2 separate regions of the Homo sapiens genome follow, and region 1 is linked to region 2. Evidence: promoter capture Hi-C in 16 types of primary human blood cells and fetal thymus (Javierre and others, 2016). All regions are on one chromosome and are shown on one strand. Each heading gives the region's core, a stretch centred on a gene start or on the middle of the fragment in contact. The rest is flanking DNA. Distances are from core to core; before and after follow the strand shown.

Evidence for each region. Contacts are between HindIII fragments. The CHiCAGO score rates a contact against its expected background, and 5 or more counts as called.
Region 1: a contact is called between a fragment that was not itself captured here and the fragment with the promoter of LNCRNA-IUR in region 2, in 1 of 17 cell types (endothelial precursors). The highest score is 5.4, in endothelial precursors.

What each region holds. Positions count from the first base shown.
Region 1 is chr11:96,415,002-96,421,344 of GRCh38, forward strand. No RefSeq gene overlaps it. Among named protein-coding and RNA genes, the nearest start is that of JRKL, 28 kb to the left of the region's middle. The HindIII fragment of the contact is 7,145 bases long and covers 1-4,823 here.
Region 2 is chr11:95,148,901-95,155,471 of GRCh38, forward strand. LNCRNA-IUR (lncRNA imatinib upregulated) reads left to right here and starts at 1,639. Exons shown (of 3, transcript NR_110303.1): 1 at 1,639-2,848. RefSeq lists enhancers at 1,425-1,966, 1,967-2,508, 2,109-2,238 and a silencer at 2,759-2,868. The HindIII fragment of the contact is 7,632 bases long and covers 1-5,158 here.

The DNA of each region.
Region 1 (6,343 bases), core at 1-2,500, 1.3 Mb after region 2:
AAAATATACAATCAGAGGAGACAAAAGGAAGAAGAACAAAGAAGAATGAAACATGCCTACAAGATCTAGGAAATAGCTTCAAAAGGGCAAATCTAAATGTTATTGGCTTTAAAGAGAAAGTAGAGAGAAACATAATGGTAGAAAGTTTATTCAAAGGGAAAATAACAGAGAACTTCCCAAACCTAAAGAAAGATGACAATATTTCAGTACAAGAAGGTTATAGAATACCAGCCAGATTTAACCCAAAGAAGACTAACTCAAGGCATTTAATAATCAAGGTCCCAAAGATCAAGGATAAAGAAGGATCCTAAAAGGAGCAAGAGAAAATAAACAACATTCAATGGAGCTCCAATGCATCTGTCAGTAGACTTTTCAGTGGAAGCCTTACAGACCAGGAGACAGTGGCATGACATAAAGGACTGAAGAAAAACAACTTTTACCCTAGAATAGCATATCCAGTGAAAATATCCTTCAAACATCAAAGAAAAATAAAGACTTTCCCAACAAATAAAAGCTGAGGGATTTCATCAACCCCAGACCTGTGCTACAAGAAATGCTAAAGGGATTTCTTTAATCTGGAAGAAAAAGATGTTAATGAGCAATAAAAAATCATCTGAAGGCACAAAACTCACTAGTAATAGTTAAGTACAGAAAAATCATAATATTATAACACTTATCATGGTGTGTAAACTCATATTGTATGTAGAAAGACAAAAGATGAAGTGATAAAAAATAAGTACAATTTTTAAGACATAGTGTAATAAGATAAATAAAAACAAAAATTTAAAAGTTGGAAAAAAGTTAAAATATAGCATTTTTATTCGTTTTATTTTTGCTTGTTTGTTTATGCAATCAGTGTTTGGTTGTCATCAGTTTAAAATAATAGGTTATAGGATTATTTGCAAGCCTTATGATAACCTCAAATCTAAGAACATACAATGGATACAGAAAAAAATAAAAAGCAAGAAATTAAAACATACTACTAGAGAAAATCACCTTCACTAAAAGTAAGACAGAAAGGAAGGAAAGGAGGAAGAGAAGACTACAAAACAACCATAAAACAAATAACAGAACGGCAGTAGTAAGTTCTTACTTATCAATAATAACATTGAATATATATGGACTAAACTCTCCAAACAAAAAGACATAGAGTGGCTGAATAGATGAAAAAACAAGACCCAATGATCTCTTGCCTACAAGAAATGCACTTGATTTATAAGGACACATGTAGACTAAAAATAAGGGGATGAAAAAAGATATTCCATGCCAATGGAAACCAAAAAAGAGCAGGAGTAGCTATACTTAGACAAAATAGATTTCAGGACAAAAACTATAAAAAGAGACAGTGTTGGTCAGGAGATCGAGACCATCCTGGCTAACACGGTGAGACCCCGTCTCTACTAAAAATACAAAAAATTAGCTGGGCGTGGTGGCAGGCGCCTATAGTCCCAGCTGCTCAGGAGGCTGAGGCAGGAGAATGGTGTGAACCCGGGAGGTGGAGCTTACAGTGAGCTGAGATCGCACCACTGCACTCCAGCCTGAGCGACAGAGCAAGACTGTCTCAAAAAAAAAAAAAAAAAAAAAAAAGAGACAGTGTTATTATTATATAATGATAAAGTGGCATATTCAGCAATAGGATGTAACAATCATAAGTATTATATACACCCAACACTGGAGCACCCAAATATATAAAGCAAATATTTTTAAAGCTAAAGCAGGAGATAGACCCCACTACAATAATAGATCTTCCAGACAGAAAATCAACAAAGAAACATCAGACTTAATCTGCAGTATAGACCGAATGGACCTAATAGATACTTACAGAACATTTTATTCAACGGCTGCAGAATACACATTGTTCTCCTCAGCACATGGATCAATGTCAATGATAAACCATATGTTAGGCCACAGAACAAGTCTTAAAATATTCAAAGGCTGGGCGCGGTGGCTCACGCCTGTAATCCCAGCACTTTGGGAGGCGGAGGCGGGTGGATCACGAGGTCAGGAGATCGAGACCATCCTGGCTAACACGGTGAAACCCTGTCTCTACTAAAAATACAAAAAATTAGCCGGGTGTGGTGGCGGGCTCCTGTAGTCCCAGCTACTTGGGAGGCTGAGGCAGGAGAATGGCGTGAACCCGGGAGGTGGAGCTTGCAGTGAGCGGAGATTGCGCCACTGCACTCTAGCCTGGGGGACAGAGCAAAACTCTGTCTCGGGGGAAAAAAAAATTCAAAAAATTGAACTAATATCAAGTGTCTTCTCTGACTACATGGAATAAAACTAGAAATCAGTAACAAGACTAATTTTGAAAACTATATAAACACATGGAATATAATATGTTCCTGAATGACCAGTGGGTCAGTGAAGAGATTGAGAAGAAAACTGAAAATTTTCTTCAAAGAAATGAAAATGGAAACATGACATACTCAAAACTATGAGATATAGTGAAAGCAGTACTAAGAGGCAAGTTTATAGCTGTAAATGGTTACATCAAAAGGAAGAAAAACTTTAATAACCTAATGATTCATCTTAACGAACTAGAAAAGCAAGAGCAAACAAAACCCAAAGTTAGTAGAAGAAAAATAATAATAGGTCAGAGCGGAAATAAATGAAATGGGAACAAAGCAATACAAAGGATTAGCAAACAAAAAGTTGGTTTTCTGAAAAGATAAACAAAATAGACAAACCTTTAGTTTAACTAAGAAAGAGAGACAACCCAAATAAATACAATCAGAGCTGAAAAGGGATACATTACAACTGATACTGCAGAAATTCAAAGGATCATTATGGCCACTATGAGCAAATATATGCGAATAAATTGGAAATCCTAGAAGAAATGAACAAATTCCTAGATACATACAACCCACCAAGATTGAACCAAGAAGATGTACCACTTGAATAGTCAAATAACAAGTCATGAGATTGAAGCTGTAATTTAAACAAATCTCCCAGCAAAGAAAATTCTGGGACCCAAAGGCTTCACTGCTGAATAATACCAAACATTTAAAGAAGAAGTAATACTAATCCCACCAAACTATTCCAAAAAAATAGATAAGGGAATACTTTTGAACTCATTATATGAAGCTCATATTACCCTGTATTGAAACCAAACAAAGATACATCAAAAAAAGAAAACTACAAGCCAATATCCCTGATGAACATTGATGCAAAAATCCTCAACAAGATACCAGCAAACTGAATTCAGCAACTAAAAAGATCACCAGTTAAAAAGACCATTAATCATGACCAAGGGAGATTTATCCCAGGGATGCAAAGATGGTTCAACATACACAAAACAATCAATGTGATACAGCATATAACAGAATGAAGGACAAAAACCATGTGATCATTTCAACTGATACTGAGAAAGCGTTTGATTAAATTCAACATCCATTAATGATAAAAAGCCTCAAAAACTGGGTATATAAGGACTGTACCACAAAGTAATAAAAGCTATGACAGACCCGCAGCTAATATTATACTGACTGAGGGAAAACTGAAAGACTTTCTGCTAAGATCTGGAACATGACAAGGATGCCCACGTTTACCACTGTAATTCAACTGGAAGTCCGCGGTAGAGTAGTCAGACATGGGAAAGAAATAAATGACATCCAAATTGTAAAGGAAACAGTAAAATTATCCTTGTTTCCAGATGATGTGATCTTATATTTGGAAAAACCTAAAGACTTGACCAAAAACCTATTAGAACTGATAAACAAATTCAATCAAGTTGCAGGATACAAACTCAACATACCAAAATCAGTAGTATTTCTATATGCCAACAGTGAACAAGCTGAAAAAGAAAAAAAGAAAGTAGTACCATTTACAGTACTACAAAAAAATACACAGGAATTAACTTAACCAAAGAAGTGAAAAATCACTACAGATATGGTCTGGCTCTGTGTGCTCACCCACATCTCACCTTGAATTGTAATCCCCATAATTCCCACATGTCAAGGGCAGGACCAGGTGGAGGTAATTGGATGATGGGGGTGGTTTCCCCTACACTGTTTTTGTGATAGTGAGTGAGTCTCACAAGATCTGATGGTTTTATAAGCGCCTGGCATTTCCCCTGCTTGTACTTACTCCGTCCTGCTTCCCTGTAAAGAAGGTGCCTGCTTATCCTTTGTCTTCCACCATGATTGTAAGTTTTCTGAGGCCTCCCCAGCAATGTGGAACTGTGAGTCAATTAAACCTCTTTCCTTTATAAATTACCCAGTTGGGGGTATTTCTTCATAGCAGTGTGAGAATGGACTAATACAGCTACAAAGAAAAGTATAAAACATTGATGCAAGAAATTGAAGACGACACACACACAAAATAGAAAGATATTCATTTTAATAGACTAGAAGAATCAAAATTGTTAAAATGTTCATACAACTCACATTACTTGACTTCAAATTATTCTACAGAGCTATAGTAACCAAAACAGCGTGGTACTGGCATAAAAACAGACACATAGACCAATGGAATAGAATTGAGGACCAAAAAACAAATGCATACATCTACAGAGCAATCATTTTTGATAAAGGTGCCAAAAATATACACTGGGGAAAGGACAGTCTCTTTAACAAACAGTGCTGGGAAATCTGGATATCCATCATACATAGCAGAAGGAAACTGGACCCCTATCTCTTGCCAAATACAAAAATGAAATCAAAATGAAAGAGTTCAATCTAAGACCTCAAACTATAAAACTACTTAAAGAAAACTTTGGGGAAACTCTCCAGGTCATTGGATTAGGCAAACATTTCTTGAGTAATACCCCATAAACACAGGCAACCAAAGCAAAAATGGATAAATGTGATCACATCGAATTAAAAAGCTTTGGCATAGCAAAGGAAACAATCAACAAAGTGAAGAGAAAACCCACACAAAGGGAGAAAATACTTGTAAACTCTCCATCTGACAAGGGATTGATAACCAGAGGATATAAGGAGCTCAAACCACTCTATAGGAAAAAAATTGAATAACCTGATTAAAAATGAGCAAAAGATTTGAATAGATGTTTCTCAACAGAAGACACACAAGTGGCAAACAGGTATATGAAAATGTGCTCAACATCACTGATCATCAGAGAAATGCAAATCACAACTACAATGAGATATCATCTCACCCCAGTTAAAATGGCTTTTATCCAAAAGACAGGTAATAACAGATGCTGGTGAGGACGTGGAGAAAAGGGAACTCTCATACACTGTTAATGGGAATGTAAATTCGTACAACCACTATGGAGAACAGTTTGGAAGTTCCTTGAAAAAGTCCCAAAATAGACTACCATATGATCCAGTAATCCCACTGCTAGGCATAAAACAAAAAGAAAAAAAAATCAGTGTATCAAAGATATAGCTGCACTCCCATGTGTATTGTGGCACTATTTACAATACCTAAGATTTGAAAGCAACTAAAGTGTCTGTCAACAGATGAATGGATAAAGAAAATGCGGTATGTATACACAAAGGAGTACTATTCAGCCATAAAATAGAATGAGATCTTGTCATTTGCAACAACATGGACAAAACTGGAAGTGATTGTGTTAAGTGAAACAAGCCAGGGATAGAAAGACAAACATTGCATGTTCTCCCTTATTTGTTGGAGCTAAAAATGAAAGCAGTTGAACTCATGGACACCAAGAGTAGAATGATGGTTACCAGAGGCTGGGAAATGGGTGAGGCAGGGGGAAGGGAGAATGGTTAGTGGGTATAAAAAATAGAAAGAATGAATAAGATTTAGTATTTGATAAAACAACTGGGTGACTATATTCAATAATAATTTAACTGTACATTTTAAAATAATTTAATTCTAACACAAAGGATAAATGCTTGAGGTGTTAAATGCCTCGTTTACCCTGATGTAATGATTACACATTGTATACCTGTATCAAAATATCCCATATACCCCATAAATATATATACAACTGTGTACCCCAATAATTAAAAATGAACACACACACACACACACACACACATATATATAATAGAAGTTGAAATAAAAATGCTTTAAAATAAAGGTAGACACACAGGGCATTTATTTTCTATTTACTAGATTAGAATACCTTTTTTCTAATCCTTAACACTTAATAACATACACAAAAAATAGTACTTAAAAATGCAAGTATGACTGTTATACATTCCATCCTCTAACAAGATAAAGTTTATTAAAATGACTGTTTGGCTGTTTGGTGATTTCCTTTCATCCATATCTGCCAAACTGCAAAGTGTAAAGAGAGGAAGAATGTGGTTTGTGGGAGTCAATGTTAAAAAAAAAAGGTATGTAAATAGTCTAATGGCAATAATGAATTAAGTGGATATTCATAATAACATAACATTTAGTGAATATTTAC
Region 2 (6,571 bases), core at 389-2,888:
CTAGTAAAATTTATAAAGTAGAAATATAAATTCTAGTAACACTTGGGATGCCATGTTCAATAAATATTACTGAAGGAGGAGCTAACATCTGCTGCACTGCTTCAGTGGTCCAGGCACTCATACACTATATATAAACTCACTTAATCCTCACAGTTATCTTTTCCCCCCAGATGAAAGTGAACTTTAGAGGGATTAAATGCCTTGCCCCAAACCAAGTAACCACTTAGCGACAGAGCCAGGGTTTGAACACAGTCATGTCTCAGTCCACATTCCATGTGCTTTCCACTGAGCTCCATGTTACAGGTTGGGCTCCCCAGGAATCAGTCTCTGAGATGACAGTAGCATGCAGGAAGTTAGCAAAAAAGTGCTCAAGGGGAACACACGTGGGGAAGGGGAAAACTCAGGATTAGGCAAAGGAGAAGGTGGGCAGGTAGAACTAGAGCCAAGCAAATGCCAGCCAGCCTTTTTGGAGGGTTTGGGTGGATAACGGACAATGTCAAAAACAGCATTAATTTTCAATCCTGGGTGGTGGAAAGACTATATATATGTATGTATATATGTATGTATGTATGTATGTGTATGTGTGTATGTATGTGTGTATGTATGTGTGTGTATGTATGTATGTATGTATGTATATGTATGTGTGTATGTGTGTGTGTGTATGTATGTATGTATGTGTGTATGTATGTATGTGTAATTTCTCTATGTCAGACACTGCTGGGTTTGTGCTCCCCTCTATAATCTACTGATTGTGGGACTTCACACGAGGTACAAAACATAAGTGACCTAATAAGCCCTCTAGACAGGGCTTCAGGGAGGAGCCAAGGCTGGCACATAGTCAGAGGGCAGGAAAAGTTCCACTCCCTCCGTGTGATTAGGAGGGCTGCTTTGTTTTCTTCCCAGGCAGAGACCTCAAAGAAAAGTGTGACTTGTGGCAATCATTGGAATGCTCTAACGGGAGGGAGCCCTAAGCTAAGGGGAGGGGCTGTATCAGCCCCGGGAGGGCGAGGGACAAAGGGGCATTGTTTCCCTGGAGGGCAGGCTGGGGCAAGGCTGACTCCACTGCCGGCCTGGGCGTGGGCAGGTTTGCTCCCGGGAGGAGAAGGCCTCCATCCTGGCCCACAATAGCCAACCCAAAACAGTTCTGGCAAAATTAAAAGACGCAGGAAAATGCCAGCGACCGTTTATTTTCTCCTAGGGTAGATGGGGGAGAAAGCAGCTCCTTTTTCTGGGCTGAATGGAGTCTCAGGGAGGGGGCTAGGTGACAGCATCGCCCTTTCCTCTCCGGCTATTGCGCACCTTCTGGAGCCTCGCTCAGCCTGCTCCCTCCGGCGTAATACGCCAATGCTGCTACCCACAACGCACAGACCAGAAACCAGGATAGACAGAAGCCTAGAATGGCCTGGCATCGAGCAGGCCCAGCGCAAACGCAAGGTCTCTTCCTCTCCTTTCGGTGAACCCCACGCCCAGTCCCGAGAGAGAGAGCGGATGCTCATTTCCGAAAGCTGGCAATCCTGCAGTGGCCACTGGAAAAATACATATACGTGTGTGTGTGTGTGTGTGTGTGTGTGTGTGTGTGTGTGCGCGCGCGCGCACACAGTGCATATCGTGCCCATCTACAAGGAAACCTGGAGGCTCCACAAACAACTTTGAGTCCCGGGAGGGCGGAGGTGGAGAGAGATTCTCCGCTTGGATAAGGGCGGCTGGATAGCCGAGTACTCTCTTTTGGGGCTGTTGGCCGTCTCCGGAGTCTCGGGAGCGCCTTGATGTCCCTTCCCAGGGCTCGGGTTCCTTTGAGAGAATCAAGAGGAAGGTGTTTTTCACTAGGACTCGCGGTGGGCCCCACCTGCCTACCGTGGCCGGCCGGGAGCTATTACAGCAGGGTCTGCCCGTCCGACGACGGCGGCTCCAATCTGGGGTCCCGCCGGCGCCGACCCCTCAGCTCTCTCCCGATACCTGCTGGCCTCTCTCATCTTTGGTGGCACTCGCCGCCACGGGGACGGTGAGATCAAAGAGGTAGACCTAGGCCAGGAGGGACTGCCAGGGCTCCTTCCCGCGGGCCAGCCTCTCGTCCTTCCTCCCGGGACGGGGCTCTTTCCCTTTCTCCGGATGCGGGCCTTTGAGAGTCAGCGACGCCTTAGACTCCTCCCAGAAAAATGCACCCTCATCTACCCAATTCTGCCCTACCCTTTGGAGCTCCTGGACCCTCTAACCGCTCGGTGGGGTCAGAGCCCACCCCCGGAAGGGCCGCTGGTCGGGGACTGGTTCGCCCTCTCCTGGCCTCCTCGGACCAGTGCGCGGGGAGGATCCCGCTAACGCCGGGCGCCTGCAGACCTTGAGCGGCCTCGCCCTGGTGACCTCCCCGGGAAAGGCTGGGCGGTGCTTCCACAATGAGGGCCACCTGTTAATTTGCACGAGAAAGTGCTGCCGAGGGCCCACACGTGCGAATCCACCTGTGGAGTGCGTCCCCTCTCTGGGGCCAAGGCCTAGGGGAGGCCGAAGCGGAGAAGTTGCCTGAAGACTGGGAAGTAAGAGTAGGGGCGTCGGAGGAATCGAAGTTGCAGTGACATCAGGCTCGGACAGCCGGCGGACTCCTCGCAAGGTGATCGGATACTTCCGAGAGCCCCACAGTCCTCCTGGGCCTTTGCCCTCGCGTCTGGGATGCGCTCGGGCGCCCCCAGTCTGCGATGCGTTCGTACCTCCAGTAGGGTGACGTTTTCGCCGGGCCCCTCTGCGAACAGTCTCCGCCCTCCTCCACTGTGAGATATTTCACAGTTTCACCCGCAGAGGGCAACCTTATTCCAAGTTCCCGAGCGCCCTAGGCCTCTTTCTCCTCCCTGCCTAACTGGTGAGGTGGGACTTCAATGCCTTTTAGGTTTACAGTCTTTTCCTCCCCACGGCTTCTCTTTCCTCCCCGTCTCAGGCACTGGGCATTTCCAGTCGATCCAGCAGGTCTGGCTTCTCTCACATATGCAGTAAGGGTTAGGGGAGAAGGTCCCAGCTCCTCTTGTCTCTAGCAGAGTGTAAACTGGCTCTGCTGAGGAGGTGGCTGTGCTTTTATTCCTTCTCCTGAGAACTGTTTATATATTAAGGAGCTTCACAGCCTCCAACATAAGGAAAGCAGGTAGGAACTGATCATATAACGCTTTGTAAATGTTTTAGACTTTGGCTTTAATGGGAAAGAAATGGGGAGCCATTCGTGGGTTTTTGAGCAGCAGGTGGACATTGCTTTTCATAATGACCACGCCAGCTGCTGTTTGGAGAATAGACTGTAGGGGTCACTGCGCAAATTGGAGGCCGCGATCCAGGTGAGAACCAGGTGAAACAGAGCTCGGGCCATGGAGTGGCGCTGGAGGTAAGGAGAAACACTCAGACTCTGGGTATGTTTTTTGAAAGTAGGATAAAAGGCCGGGCGCGGTGGCTCACGCCTGTAATCCCAGCACTTTGGGAGGCCAAGGTGAGCGGATCAAGAGGTCAGGAGATCGAGACCATCCTGGCTAACACGGTGAAACCCCGTCTCTACTAAAAAAAAAAAAAAAAAAAAATTAGCAGGGAGTGGTGGCAGGTGCCCGTAGTCCCAGCTACTCGGGAGGCTGTGGCAGGAGAATGGTGTGAACCTGGGAGGCAGAGCTTGCAGTGAGCCGAGATGGCGCCACGGCACTCCAGCCTGGGCGACAGAGCGAGACTCTGTCTCAGTCAATCAATCAATCAATAAAAATACAAAACATTAGCTGGGTGTGATGGTGTGCACCCTTAATCCCACCTACTCGGGAGGCTGAGGCAAGAGAATAGCGTGAACCCAGGAGGCAGAGGTTTCAGTGAGCCGAGATTGCGCCATTGCACTCCAACCGGGGCGAAGATTTACATATATATAAGATTTTCTGTCTGATTGTTTTTTTGGGTATGAGAAAAAGACAGGAATCAGGGATGACTCCAAGCAGCTGGAAAAACGGAGATGCTGCTGGCTGAGATTGGAAGATGCTGGGGTAGAGGGATAAGACAGCTTAATGTTATATATTTTAGGTTTGAGGTGTTCATTAGAAAAACAAGTGGAGAGATTGATTGGGCAGACACACAGGTCTGGAGAGGGCTGGGCTGGAGATAGAAATATGGGTTGCCATGATACAGGCATGGGACTGAAAGCCCCATCAGTCCCTTGGAGAGATCATCAGAGAGTGAGTAGAGACATAGCAGGGCGAAGCCCTGAGCCCCGGTTCCCCCAGCATGTACCTGCAGTCTGTTTCCTCTTCTCAACTACAATTCCCATGGTCTTGTCTTGTTCACAGAACCTGCTCAAGGAGCATCTATTAAATGAAGGAACCCAACTTTCATCACATGTAAAATAAACATCATTATAATCCTACCTCATAAGGTTGTTGTCAGAAAAAGTTAAACGTCGTAATGAAAGTGAAACTGCGTTATGATTGGTAGATGCCTGCTATATTTTAAAATGTAGGCTTCATTATCTCATTCTGTACAGCTTGTATTACTTGATTGTATCTTCACAGTTTCTGATGCATGCAAGGCAGACACTCTCGTTCTCACTTTATTGACGAGGAAAGTAGGATTGGTGAGACAAAATAAGTCCCTGAAGCTGCATATCTAATGGTAACACCAGTGGCTGACCTGTTTGAGCACATCTGCGGCAGGCACTGTGTTAATGATTTTGCATGTGTTATCTGGCAACAACACAGCGAGGTGGGGGTTATTATCTTCACTTGCACATGAGGAAACTGAAGCATAGAGAGGGTGGTTAACTTAGCCAAGGTCCCATAGTGAGTGGTTGGAAGAGTCTGGGCCATGAAGCAGACCTGCCCATCCTGATTCAATGTTCTTTTTGCAGCCTGATAGCTCCTCTTCTTCATCCCCCTACTAGACTCCTGCCAGGGCCAAGCCTCACCACTCCTTCCCTTGACATTGGCAACATTCCTCTCTCCTTAACGTTTCTCTCCTACCAAGCCTGCTTGCTGCAGGATACAAGAGTTCAGTCACTCCTTGGGAACAACCTGCAGGTCAAAACATTTTGGCTTATTGCTTCCCCTTTCTGGAAAGTCCTTTCCCTTCCTCTCTGCCTTATGAACTCCTATGTGTTCTTCCAAACCCTGGTGAACTCCTATGTGGTTTTCCAAGTCCAATTAATATGTCACCTCTGTTGTGAAGCTTTCCCTGCTTGCACCAGACAAGAGGCATGACTTAGATCATGTGACACTTTGTTTATAGGTCTATCAAAACAAACTGACAATTTCCTGTGGGTTTGACTGATGCCCCTGTAATATTGTGATTTTTCTCTCAGGTTCTTATATTTTCATGTCTTTTTATCCAACATGCTGTTTGCTTCGTGAATACATAAATGAATGACCCATTTACAATCACTATCAAAGCAAATTTATGGATATCAAATATTCTTCTAGAGATGAGGAAATAGGCTAAAAGGAGTGATTTGCCTAAAGTCACTCAACTGATTAAATACTGGAGCTTTGCTGGGTATGATTATGCGTGCCTATAATCCCAGCTACTCAGGAAGCTAAGGTGGGGGCAGAGGGGGTGGGTGGCAATGACCGCTTGAGCTCAACAGTTTGAAGCCAGTCTGGCTAGCATAGTGAGACTCTGCCTCAAATAAATAAACATAAATAAATAACATAAATATTGCAGCATGAACTCAAGAGAGGTGAGGAGATTTTGTCTGGTGAAACTCAAGATTTCACATGCCTATTGCTTCCCTCTCTGGCATCTAGGGTCCTGGAACCCTCCTCCAAATGCTCCTGCAGGTGGCAACAGAGGCCAAGGAAAGGTGAAGCATTCTGGCAGAAGTTCTGGAGACAGATGAGAAGCTGAGCTCCCTGAGGGCAGGGGCAAGGTGACTTGAAGAAAGCCAGGCCAGAGGGAGCATTTTATGCATCCATCATTTGTAATCCAGAAAGAAAAGGTTTAGACAATTTTAGTGTAACCATTAGTCATAAAATTGACACTGAAGAAAGGAAAAAGCAATTGAAATAAAAGGACAGTAAATAACAAACTATCTTACAGGAAAAGCTACACCATGTGCCCCAAGACACCGAGCTAGAAAGTAGCAGGGGTAGTCAGTATCAGGGCCCATCGCCTCATGTTATCTGCACAGGGGGTCTCTGTCTGATGTTTGGGCACAGAGAAACAAAGTCCAGGTATAGTGCATTAGACAGGACCCAGAGGGTGTTTATGCGTGGACTGATGGCCACCTCGAGGGTCAGAGCTTCTGGCTTATTGTGTCTCCAACTCTGTCCTAATACACATTTTTACCAATGGCTTGCTGGAAAAACAGAGGAAAGGCCCGTGAATTTGCCAAGGAGAGGAAGCTCTGAGTGTTCGCGAGTGCCCATGTGGAGAACAGGGAATTGTACAAGTTCGAGCTGTGTGGGCCAATAGGGAAATGGAACAAAGGGACATTTTACCTTTGTGTTCAAAATAATTAGACAAGGACAGCATGGAAGAGACACGGCTTTAGTAATAGTGTGTGTTGAAAAGAATGGGGCTGGGACATTTATTACAACAACCGACATTTGTGCAGCATTTATGAGGCATTTTCATTACTCCT